Linked DNA regions of Homo sapiens: region 2 is linked to region 1. The links are contacts of gene promoters, found by promoter capture Hi-C in blood cells and fetal thymus (Javierre and others, 2016). All regions are on one chromosome and are shown on one strand. Each heading gives the region's core, a stretch centred on a gene start or on the middle of the fragment in contact. The rest is flanking DNA. Distances are from core to core; before and after follow the strand shown.

Region 1 (6,032 bases), core at 2,209-4,708:
CTCGACAGTATATAATAGGTATCCTTCTATGTCAATACATCCTAGTCTATATCATTCTTTTTAATGGCTGCCCCCTTTTAATTTGACAATCTTAATCAGCTGTGAATGGGAAAGCCAAATAATCAAGCTTATTAGAATTGTACCTAAGAAAGAATAAATCGGCTCTGAATGAAGGCTTGTGTAATTCTCCTAGGAGGGAAATGTGTTAACTTTAGTGCATGGACTTTGTAATGTTTATTTTGGCTATTCTGGGACCCTTTTTGCTTATTTCCTGCTTCATTGTGTTTTGGATAGCTGAGGTTGCTGGACATATGACCTGTGAATTAGTGAGGTATTACATATTCAATTTTGCATTACATAATTTTGCTCTGATTTTATGAGGGATTTGCATTTAATTTATTCGTTTAGATTGCTGTTATAGACAGTGATTAATTCTAGTTTCTGAGTACTTGCATCGTAGTGAGGACCACTGCATGTGGTAACAGCTAAAAATATTTGGCTTGATGATTGAACAGGCCTTCTTATCTGTATCATCTATCTGTGAGAATGTGCACTGGATCTACGGGAACTCTCTAAGTTAGTCTGAGGGAGCCTTTTACTACTGATAAACATTAAAGTACTGACAACATCTTTTGCTATAAATAATAAAATCTTATTTAGGATTTATATAGAGTCTTCCTTCTGCCTTCATCCACCATACTAAAATGGCTAAATCCTGTTGATTCTACCTTTTAGATCTCACTGTAATGTGTCCCCTCCTCTCCACTCACTCTGCCCCAGTACCTTGGTTCAGGCCCTACTTCATCTCAACTGAATTACTTGAGATAGACTTTTTGATTGGCCTCCCTGCCTCTTGTCTAACCTCCACCTTGTCCACCCAGGAACTAGTGCTTGTTTTAAAACAGAAATCCTACCCTGTCACACCCCTAAAACCCTCTAGGGGTTTCTCATCATCTGTAGGATAACATCCACTTTCCTTAGCTTAGTATACAAAGCCTTTTGTGATTTGGCCCACTTCTCCTGCCTATCTCTTGCTGCTCAATGTTTCATATTTCAATTTTGAGGGAAATCAGTGGCTTATAATTCCTTTAACACACCAGGCAAGAGAGTTCTCGATAAATGCTTGTTAAATGAATGAATGAAATACCTTATGTAGCTAGGGTGACCATTCAATCTGCTTGGCCCAGGATGGCCCTTGTTGACATTTGTCATCCCAGTGTAATTATTAAAAGTGTCCCTTTTTTATCATCAAACTTGTCTCAGTTAGATCAATAAATTCTAAGGTCATCCTTATTACAGTGGTTATCAAATTGATTTCTAACTCTTTCTTTGTCTCCTCTACTAGATGGTGAGCTCTTTGAGGACAGGAGTTCATTTTTATATCCTCGTTTATTCATTCAACTAAGAGACTGATGCTGTAAGGTGCTTAGGGTATGATGTAGAATGCAACAAACATGGTTCTTGACTTCATGAAGTTTACAATCCAGCAGGAAATAATAATTTAGTGGAAAGAATAGAGCCTAACATAATAAATGCTGGTGTATGAATGAATGATTAAACATGGATTAGAAGTTCCTCAACAGGCCAGGCGTGGTGGCTCACCCCTGTAATCCCAGCACTTTGGGAGACCGAGACAAGCGGATCACTTGGGGTCAGGAGTTTGAGACCAGCCTGGCCAACATGGTGAAACCGTATTTCTACTAAAAATTATTTGGGCATGGAGGGGCATGCCTGTAATCCCAGCTACTTGGGAGGCTGAGGTAGGAGAATCGCTTGAACTCGGGGCGGAGGTTGCAGTAAGCCAAGATCACACCACTGCACTCCAGCCTGGGCGAGAGAGTGAGATTCCATGTCAAAAAAAATAAATAAATAAAAATAAAGTTCCTCAACAAATAATCCTGATATCACGAATTATAGAAATAGTTGTAAATGTAGAACTCTAAGTGATCAAATTAACAATTTATTTAGAGTTGCCAATTAAAATTTTAAAATACCAACAGCACACATATACATAAACATACTTAATATTTAGATGCTACCTTAATGTTAAACATAAGTAAAAAGGACAATGAAATAATAGCAAGAATGAGATTTTGAGTCTCATTCTTTTTAGACAATTTATAATCCTATGTGGTTCTCTGTAAAGTGGATTATCAGTGTGTACTCCATTTCTCCCCACCCTCCCTTTTTTTTTTCCAGATGAGAAATCTGAGGTTTTAGACACTTAACTACAAAACAAAAGAATGACTTTTTTTTTTTTTTTTTTTTTTGTCACCCAGGCTGGAGTGCAATGGTGTGATCTCGGCTCACTGCAACTTCCGCCTCCCGGGTTCAAGCGATTCTCCTGCCTTGGCCTCCTGAGTAGCTGGGATTACAGGCGCATGCCACCACGCCCGGCTACTTTTTGTATTTTTAGTAGAGACAGGGTTTCACCATGTTTGTCAGGCTGGTCTTGAACTCCTGACCTCTTGTTCCGCCCGCCTCGGCCTCCCAAAGTGTTGGCATTGCAGGCGTGAGCCACCGCGCCCGGCCAGGAATGACTTCTTAAACCAGGATTTGATTTTGGTTGAACTTTGCTTTCAGAACTAGAACTACCTGCTATCCAAGACTTGTTAACCACGTTTTCATGGGCAAATTACAAAACCCTTTCAACCCCAGTTTCCTCTTCTATAAACTAGTGGTAATATTATTATCTCCAGAATTAATCTTAGGAGTAAATGAAATTATGTAAAGGCATTTAGTCTCATAACCGGGCTCCTAGAAAGCACTCAGGAATGTTAGTTCTCTATCCATTTCCCCTGTTTATCTTTGTGTTTGATGAATTATAGGATGATATGAAATGATCTGAAATGAACTGTAATATAAACATCAATAAAACACCAATAAAAAATTTTATTCTCACATCTGGATGCTATACTAGGCCTTCACCTCCTCCAAAAGTTACAGTTTTATTAATATTCATTTATTATTTATTATTATAGTCAAAGACCCAGAGAAGCATTCCAGGAACAAAGCAGCAGGTAAGATTTTTCTGGGAAAAGACAGAGATTTTGAGGGACCCAGGATTTGGGGGTCATTTAAGCAGCAGTGGATGTCAGTCTTCAAGCTTTGCCCATTTACTCTTGGTCCCTTTTGGTTCAGGAAAGGAAGAACAACAAGCACGAAACCATTCACTGAGACCTTTGCGGGTGGGGGAGGAGGGATGTAAACAAAAGCCAACGCTCTCTTTAGTTCACAATGGCTCGCGACCCCAAGACTTCCAAGCTCTTTGGTGAGGGCCAGCAGGTCTGTTCTCCAGGAGTGCCCTGGGTCTGGACTTCATTTCCCAGAGTCCCTTAGTGCCCTAATGTATTCAGTGCTCAGAGTGCCTGTATGTGTGTGAGTGTGAGAGAATGTGTGCGTGCGTGTGTGTGTGCGCGCGTGTGTGTGTCTCCGAGTCCCTGGGAGAGTGGAGGCTCATTCACTGATTAGATCCAGCGCTGAGAGGCAGCACTGCTCCTTCTCTCACGCCAACTGAGTCTCTTGATCTGTACATGCAATCCCAGGCAGCTCGCGAACACAAACCCGGGGCCAGCCGCCTACTGCTGCTGCTGCTGCTGCCGCTGCCGCCGCCGCCGCCGCCGCTGCCTCCGCCGGCTCTGCGAACCCGGGACTTTTCATGCACCACACTCTCCGCCTGCTTCCCTCCGTGTCCTGAAAAGTGCGACCGTTCTCCCAAGGAATTTCCACGGCAAGTATGGAGATCAGAAAGGGGTGTGGACGTGTGTGCGTACCCAAGAGGGGTGGGTGCGAGGGCGGCCGGCTTGTTCAGGAACCTGGCTAACTTTCCGGGTCCGTTTCCTAGGGATTCGGGCGGTTCCCTCTGGACGGGGGCAGGGACTGGGACTCGGACTGGCGCGTCTTGGATCATCGCGACGGAGCCTCTCGGCATCGGCGCCCTGCGCGCTCCGTGCGCTGCCTCGCTCAAACTTTCCGTCTTGAGTTTTCCTTAATGTGTTTTATTTGGGGAGGGGGGGAGGTGCAAGGGGGAGGGACCAGACGCGGGAATTGGACAAGTTGGGAGGGTGAGGGCACTGCAAGGGAAGGGAGCAGGACTTCTTTTCTCCGTCTCTTAATAAGCCCCATTCCCACTTTGTTCGGGTCGATATCGAGAATGCCTTCTCGCCGGGCTCTCTGGTGCACCCCCCGGTGATTTCCGGGCTCCCCTATGTACCCCGCGTTGATTTCCGGCGAGGCCAGGGCTGGGTGGTACTCAGTGGGGAGCCCGAGGCGGCGGGCGGATGGAGAAGGGGCGAGCCGAATGAGAAACTACCCCGACAGCCTCCACCCCACACACAGCCGGCTCCGCGGGATACCCGGGGAGTGGCTGTTTAGCCCTGGACCCCGGGTGCTCGGCTGACTTTTTCCTAGCGGGGGCGGGTGTGAAGGGTGTGGAGGGAGGGAGGTGGGGTAGGATGGATGGATCCTCTGCGGGCAGGAAGGAGGCAGGTGCTAGCATAGAGGCGGACCGTTCTAAACGCCACCGGTAAACTCCCCACTCCTCTGGGCTGGACCGGCCTGGCCGTAGAGTAGCCCGACACGTGGGATCTCCCGGGATTTTCGGGGTCGGGACCCCCTCTCCCAGCGGTTCTACTGAGCAAGGCGGGAGGACGATCGTGGAGACGAGGGCTACTTGACTACTCTACTTGTAGTTTTATTTTTATCTTAGACCTGCCTTAAACTGAGTAACAATTTCTCTTCTGACTTAAGAACAAAACTTTTCAGTGAGCACGCCGGTCGCTGCGGTCCTGCGGCCACTGCCGCCGCGCTTGTCAGCCCGGGCCGAGCGACCTTCTCTGCCCGGAACCCAGCCCCGCCACCGCACTCCGGAGCCTCCGGCCTCCCCCACCCCACCCCCGCCCCCCAACCCGGGGCTTTTCAGGGCTCGGCCTGGGCGTTTCGCCTTTGTGCTTTGTAAGAGAAAGCCTTTTCTTCCAGGGCACAACAAACTTGGGCGGAGAGCTTCCGTGTGGCCCCCCGGGCGAGGCCGCCCACGGTGGTGAGGCCATCCGAGGGGATGCCCGGTTCATCCCCCAGTCCAGGAGCCTCTCCGAGAGCTCGCGGCCCAGGTCGACCCCAGCTGGCGAGGGCGCGCAGGAGTCCCGAAGTAGCGGGGACTAGGGCAGCCAGGAGGCAGGGGGAAAGCTCTCGCTTCCCGTTAAGCACACCCTGCATTCTCGGGTCGTGGATGCAGCTCCAGCGGAGAGCCCGTGTTCCGGCCCTGAGCCAGGCGCGCGTCGCACTGGGTGGGTGCATGGGGCCCGGGCCATAGGTGTGGGGGCACAGCCCTACCTGGCCGGCCCGGGTCGTCTGGGGTCTGCGCCGGCCCACTGGCCCGGGAGCCGCCGAGGGGGAGAGCACCGCACTCGCTGCCCACGACGCCCAGCAGCCACATCTTGCCTCTCGCCTCCGCTCCGGACTCGGCTTGAGGGGCAAAGGGGAGAGAAAGGAAAAATAAAGAAAAAAAAGGGCGGCAGTGAGGAAGCAGCGAGGGGACTGGGGGGAGCAGAGTGGGCAGGGGGGCTTTGCCTTGCCTGGCCTCCTCTTTCCGTCTCGCGGGCTCTTCCTGCAAAGGGGAATGAGCAGAGGGGGGAAAGGCAGAAAGAGCGTCGAGGAAGAGCGGTGCTGGCGTCTTCCGTGCCGATCCCTCCTGGCCCGCAGAGACCCGGCAAAAGTGGCGTGAGTTCGCTTGCTGCGCTTCGAGGCAAGGCTGGGGAAGGCCGAGGACGGGGCGGCGCCGCGTCGCGCCGCTGGTGGCCGACAGGGCCGGGGCCGGGCGCGGAGCGAGCGGGGACACACACCTGTTCTGCGAGCCGCGCGGTGTGCGGCGGCCGGACGGCCGCGGTGCGGGCCGCAGAACCCTCCCTCCCGCACTGCGCATCCGCAGTCCAGGAGCTGGAAGGGCCCGGCAGCCCCGCGCCGGTCCGTATTTGCAGGAGAAGCGGGAGTGGAGGAGTCCGCGGCTGCCCGCTGAAGCGGTGGTGCGCGCGGCG
Region 2 (6,032 bases), core at 1,153-3,652, 76 kb after region 1:
ACTGCCAGGCGTGGTGGCTTCTGCTTGTAATCCTAGCACTTTGGGAGGCCAAGGTGGGTGGATCACCTGAAGCTAGGAGCTCGAGACCAGCCTGGCCAACATGGTGAAAGCCCGTCTCTACTAAAAATACAAAAATTAGCTGGGCGTGGTGGCACATGCCTGTAGTCCCAGCTACTCGGGAGGCTGAGGCAAGAGAATCACTTGAACCTGGGAGGCAGAGGTTGCAGCAAGGTGAGATCATGCCACTGGACTCCAGCCTGGGCAACAGAGCGAGACTCTGTCTCTAAAAAAAAGAGAGAGAGAGAAATGAAATCAGAAATCGCCAGTCCATAGCAGTTCTGAAATTCTACTGGGCAAATGTTGACAGGTCCCACGGTCCTAGGGGTTGAGAATGCTCTCTGATTAGGCTCTGATTCTGGATCTCCCATCCATTGTTCCCCGTGGCTGTTGGTGCACTCCTCTGGAAGACCTTCCTTTTCTATCATCCTTGGACATCACCCATGGACACTTCTGAAAAAGATATTAAATAATTTTTGTGGGTGAGCAGCTTTTTTCAGCCTACTGCCTACTTGTAGAAATTTGGGGCCCCAGAAATCTTTTTACATCTTCAATAGTCTCTGTTTCTTTCCGTTGGAGCAGGCAGTCTTTCACCAATACAGCTCTCTCACAAACTTTGTGGATTTTTTTTTTTTTTTTTAGACAGAGTCTCACTCAGTCGCCCAGGCTGGGGTGCAGTGGCGCATTCTCGGCTCACTGCAACCTCCGCCTCCCGGGTTCACGCCATTCTCCTGCCTCAGCCTCCCGAGTAGCTGGGACTACAGGCGCCTGCCACCAGTGCCCAACTAATTTTTTATATTTTTAGTAGAGACAGGGTTTCACCGTGCTAGCCAGGATGGTCTCGATCTCCTGACCTCGTGATCCGCCCACCTCAGCCTCCCAAAGTGCTGGGATTACAGGTGTGAGCCACCGCGCTCGGCCAACTTTGTGGATTTTTATGTGTTTTATACTCATCAACTCTATGTACCACAAGCCACACCCACAATTTTTACAAGACAGAATCTACCGAGACTTAAGTACTGGGAATGTCAGGCTGCTGTAGAACCTTGCTCTTAAGTTTTCTACAAGCTTCATTTTCAGCTGCAAGAGCCTATTAGATGCCATCTGATTTCCTTCAGAGCTTAATACTCTTGATTTTGACTTCACCTGGAAACAGTATCGTTCTTGCCGCACTCTGGATTAGGTCTTTAGCCCCAGGATGGATCTTAATTTGAAAATCTCTTACTAGAGAGATTGGAGATGAGAAAGTTTTATTTTTCAACCCCACAAATTCTGGGTTCTCTATATTCCCACTGAATCCTGCTTGCAAACTAGCCAGTTTTCTGAGTTTATCACTTTCTTGTTAGTGCTTCATCAAATACAGCTAAAAGCAGCCAGCTCATGCTTGCAATGTTTTGCCTTAAGATCCCCTCCTTCACCTTTGCTAGTTTATAAGATACGTTTCCTGCCTTCCAAATTATTGTAGTTTAGTCACAAGTTTACCACTAAATAATACAAGTTGCTATTATTCCCGGCTTTTATACCAGCTTCCTTGCTGCCCACTTGCCTAGTCCCAAAGCCAATGTCACATATCTTTGTGTTTTGTTGTTCTAGTTATAACAGCACCTTGCTATTTAAAATGACTGCAAAGGCAGGGCACAGTGGCTCACATCTACTCCCAGCACTTTGGGAGGCCAAGGCAAGTGGATCACTTGAGTCCAGGAGTTTGAGACCAGCCTGGCCAACATGGTGATATGCCATTTCTACTAATAATACAAAAAAAATCAGCCAGGTGTGATGGTGCATGCCTGTAGTCCCAGCTACTCAGGGGGCTGAGGTGGAAGGAACGCTTGAGCCTGGGACGTAAAGGCTGTGGTGAGCCCTGATCGTGCCACTACACTCCAGCCTGGGCAACAAAGTGACTCTGTCTCAAAAATTAATTAATTAATTAATTAAGTGATTGCAAAAGATGAAATGAAAATGAATGGTGTAAAAGAGAGAAAATAAAAGGGCACAGACCCAAGCCCTGGATAACTCTAACATTTAAAGATGTGGTAGAGGAAAAGAAGAAAGGAGTCTGAGAAGGAATGGACAATAGAGATCATAAAACCAAGGAGGAAAAAGGAGTGTTTTAAAAGAGAAAATGGGCCGGGGGCAGTGGCTCACGCCTGTAATCCCAACACTTTGGGATCACTTGAGGTCAGGAGTTCAAGACCAGCCTGGCCAACATGGTGAAACCCTGTCTCTATTAAAAATACAAAAATTAGCTGGGCATGGTGGGGCACGCCTGCAGTCCCAGCTACTTGGGAGGCTAAAGCAGAAAAATTGCTGGAACGTGGGAGGCAGAGGTTGCAGTGAGCTGAGATTGTAACACTGCACTCCAGCCTGGGCAACAGAGTGAGACTCCGTCTCAAAAAATAAAGTAAAATAAAATAAAATAGAAAATGATGAGTTACGTCAAATGCTCCTGGGAGATCAAGGACAGAGATGTACATGTCTTCAGGATTTGGCAATATGGAGGGCAATAGGTCACTTTGAGAACAGTTTAGTGGAATGACAGGGCAAATTCAAGTTGACATGAATTGAAGAGCTAATAGGGGGTGAGAAAATGTATGCAGCAGATGTAGACAACACCTTGGAGGTGTCTGGGGATAAAGAAGAGCAGAAGACTGAGCGTGGTGGCATACGCCTGTAATCCCAGCACGTTGAGAGGCTGAGGTGGGAGGATTGCATGAGCCCGGGAGTTCAAGACCAGGTTGGGAAACATAGTGAGACTCCATCTCTGCAAAAGAATTTTAAAAATTAGCTGGGTTTGATGACGTGCACCTGTAGTCCCAGCTACTTGGGAGGCTGAGGCAGGGGGAATCACTTGAGCTCAGGAATTCGAGGCTGCAGTGAGCTGTGATCGCCCTGCTGCACTCCATCCTGGGTTGGCCATCATCCTCAGCAAACTAACACAAGAACAGAAAACCAAACACCGCATGTTCTTACTCATAACTGAGAGTTGAACAATGAGAACACATAGACCCAGAGAAGGGAACAACACGCACACAGGGCCTGTTGGGAGCTGGAGGTTGAGCGGGGGGTACTTAGAGGATGGGTCAATAGGAGCAGAAACCACCATGGCACACATACACCTATGGAACAAACCTGCACGTTCTGTACATGTATCCCTTTTCTTTGGTTTGTTTTTCTTTAGAAGAAATAAAGGGGGAAAAAAAGAAGAGCAGAAAAATATGATGGCAAGTGGAGAGGATGTGGAATCAAGAGAGAGAACTTTTTTGTTCTTGAGAGAAGATAGCAGTGCATGTGTGTGTGTGCTGGTGGAAGTGATCCAGGCAAAGAAAAAGACTGACAGTCAAGAAACAGAGATGATGAAGCAGTTTAAAAGACAAGAAGGGATGGAATCCAGACCACTTGTGAGGGATTAGACTTCAGTCGTAAGAGGGTCATTCTCTCAGTTGTAACAGGAGAGAACAAGGAGCAGATGAAGTTAATTCAGAGATAAGAAGCCAAAACAATGAGCACCCGCTTTTCCTGGGTGCCTGCTCTGTGTCAGGCATTGCACCAGAAGTTCTGCATGCAGTACTTGGGCCCCTTGATTTTGGTTTTATTTCATTCCCATTTTACAGACAAGAAAACAGAAGCTTAAAAGGTTAATTTTCCTAAAGTTTCTCAACTTACAAGTAGCAGAACTGGGATTCAAACCCCATCCATCTGACCATGAACCCATATTTGATTTCTATTCCAAACAGATTCATTTTTCCATAGAGAAATAATGTTCAAAAAATGAGACAAAACTAAGAATACACGGCCTGCAGACCAGACCTGGTCTAGTCTGGATCCCTGGGGCTCCCTTCTCAGGGGAGCAGGAGGGGTGGAGGGCAGTTGCTGTGGTGAAGACATTTGAAGGAAGTGGGGAGAGAAGACTGATACTAACTCCAGTCCGTTCACCTTTTAGATACTGCATATTTTTCAAAGAATTTTTGTGTTCCTTCTCTCAGTGAGCAATGAATAGCTTCAGTGGAGCTAGAAATCTTTCTGTAGGAAGAAAGGAGCTATGCTCTGGTTGTCATGAGGCATTTGAGTTCTAGGGGATCTGAAATAGGATTCTTCACATTTATCCTTGGCATAGTCTAGGGTAATTCAGTAAATTTTTTTTTTTTTAGACAGAGTCTTGCTCTGTCACCCAGTCTGGAGTGCCGTGGCACAATCTCAGCTCACTGCAACCTCTGCCTCTCAGATTCCAGTGATTCTCGTGCCTCAGCCTCCTGTGTAGCTGGGATTACAGGCATGTGCCACAATGCCTGGCTAATTTTTGTATTTTAATAGAGACAGGGTTTCACTATGTTGGCCAGGATGGTCTCAAACTCCTGACCTCAAGTGATCTACCTGCCTCGGCCTTCCAAAGTGCTGGGATTGTAAGAGTGAGCCACCACACCCAGCCTTTTTTTTTTTTTTTTTTTTTTTTTGTCCAGATGGGATATTGCTCTGTAGCCCAGGCTGGAGCGCAGTGGAACGATCGTGGCTTACTGCAGCCTCAAACTCCGGGATTCAGGCAGTCCTCCTGCCTTAGCCTCTGGAATAGCTAGAATTACAGGTGCACACCATCGCGCCTGGCTACTTTTTCTATGTTTTGTAGAGACAGGGTCTTGCTTTGTTGCCCAGGCTGGTCTCAAACTCCTGGGTTCAAGCCATCCTCCCGACTTAGCCTCCCAAAGCGCCAGGATTGCAGGCATGAACTACCATGCCCAGCCCAAGCATAGTATTAATACACACCTTTTAAAAGGATGAGTTCCATCCCTTTGCAGCCGGTTAGACCTGTTCTACCTTGCTCAATGTCAGAAGCCCAGCTTTTAAATACTGTTCTAGATCAGAAGGGAAACCAAATGAAAATGTGTGGAAGAACTATGTCCAGGCTCACAGCACTATTTTAGAAAGCATCTCAACAATGGAGTCAGGAAAGGGAGAAGTGCCATGCCCATATCAGAAAATATACTCATCATACTAACATGTACAGTGCTTTGTGCTCATTCATTTAGCAGATACTGAGCTAGTACCAGGTTCCAGGCCCAGAGCTAGCTAAAGGGGTATGGAGGTAAATGAGGCTCTTCTCCAGACCTTGAAGAACTCCTGAGCTAGTGGGCTAGCAGGTTACTCTGAAGAGGTGTTCAATGAAGATATGTCTGAGGAGCTATGAGAACATAGCGGTGGCAGGCTAGATAAGGGGTCAGATCAGAGAGGGCCAAAGAGTATAAGCAGTGGTGCAACTTGATCTGATTTGAGATTATGATTTATAGTTTGCTTTTGCATATTTCATTATTTTGTTTAAATCAGATGTTCATAGCCTTCCCTCTTAGGATTTTTTCTGCCTTGAGCCTTCCAAAACGTATCAGAATGCAGCTTGTCTGGTGTGTGAGAAACCCCTGAAGCTGTGAGCCCCCTTTCCAGGAGTCTGGGCTCACTGCTAGCCTTGGCCCTCCTAAGCCCCTTACCCTTGCTTTTCCTAGGCAAGCAGTGAAATGTCTCCAAAATCTGGGAATAACTGTTTCCCAGCCTTGGGCTGGTTCTCCTTCCTTCCTTGTTCTTCACAAGCTGTAGAGCCTCCTGAGGTGGGGTCGAGGCATCTCATTTTCAGGGTTTATTAGGGTAGGCTAATGACTACATCCAACAAATCCTTTTTAGAAGGCAGTCACATAGCGGTGCCTTTGGAATTCAGGTTGAGCCGTCCCCTAGGGTTCAGGATCCCCCTGCTGGATGCTGTAACTGGCATAGAAGAAAAAAAAGAGCATGAAGGGTCAAGTAGGAGACTTTTATTGGCCCAGGGGAAATGGCTTACATCACCTCCACCTACGATCCAGTGAGTGGAATTCCTATCTAACTGCGAGGGAGGCTGGGAATGCAGTCGAGCTGTGTGCCCAGGAAGAAGAGGAAGAAGTGAGCACATAGCAAACTGCCGCACAGTGGGTAGAACTGACAAAGACAGTAGACTGCTG

What was found. The method cuts DNA at HindIII sites, captures the fragments that hold promoters and counts their contacts. A CHiCAGO score of 5 or more calls a contact.
Region 2: a fragment that was not itself captured here is called in contact with the fragment with the promoter of RNF220 in region 1 in 3 of 17 cell types (megakaryocytes, monocytes and endothelial precursors); the score reaches 10.8 in megakaryocytes.

Annotation. Positions count from the first base shown.
Region 1 is chr1:44,401,797-44,407,828 of GRCh38, forward strand. It overlaps RNF220 (ring finger protein 220), which reads left to right and starts at 3,459. Exons shown (of 15, transcript NM_018150.4): 1 at 3,459-3,734. RefSeq lists an enhancer at 4,352-4,874. The HindIII fragment of the contact is 8,690 bases long and covers 3,105-6,032 here.
Region 2 is chr1:44,478,438-44,484,469 of GRCh38, forward strand. The region is part of intron 2 of RNF220 (ring finger protein 220); the gene reads left to right. Among named protein-coding and RNA genes, the nearest start is that of MIR5584, 64 kb to the right of the region's middle. RefSeq lists enhancers at 5,075-5,954, 5,955-6,032. The HindIII fragment of the contact is 2,558 bases long and covers 1,124-3,681 here.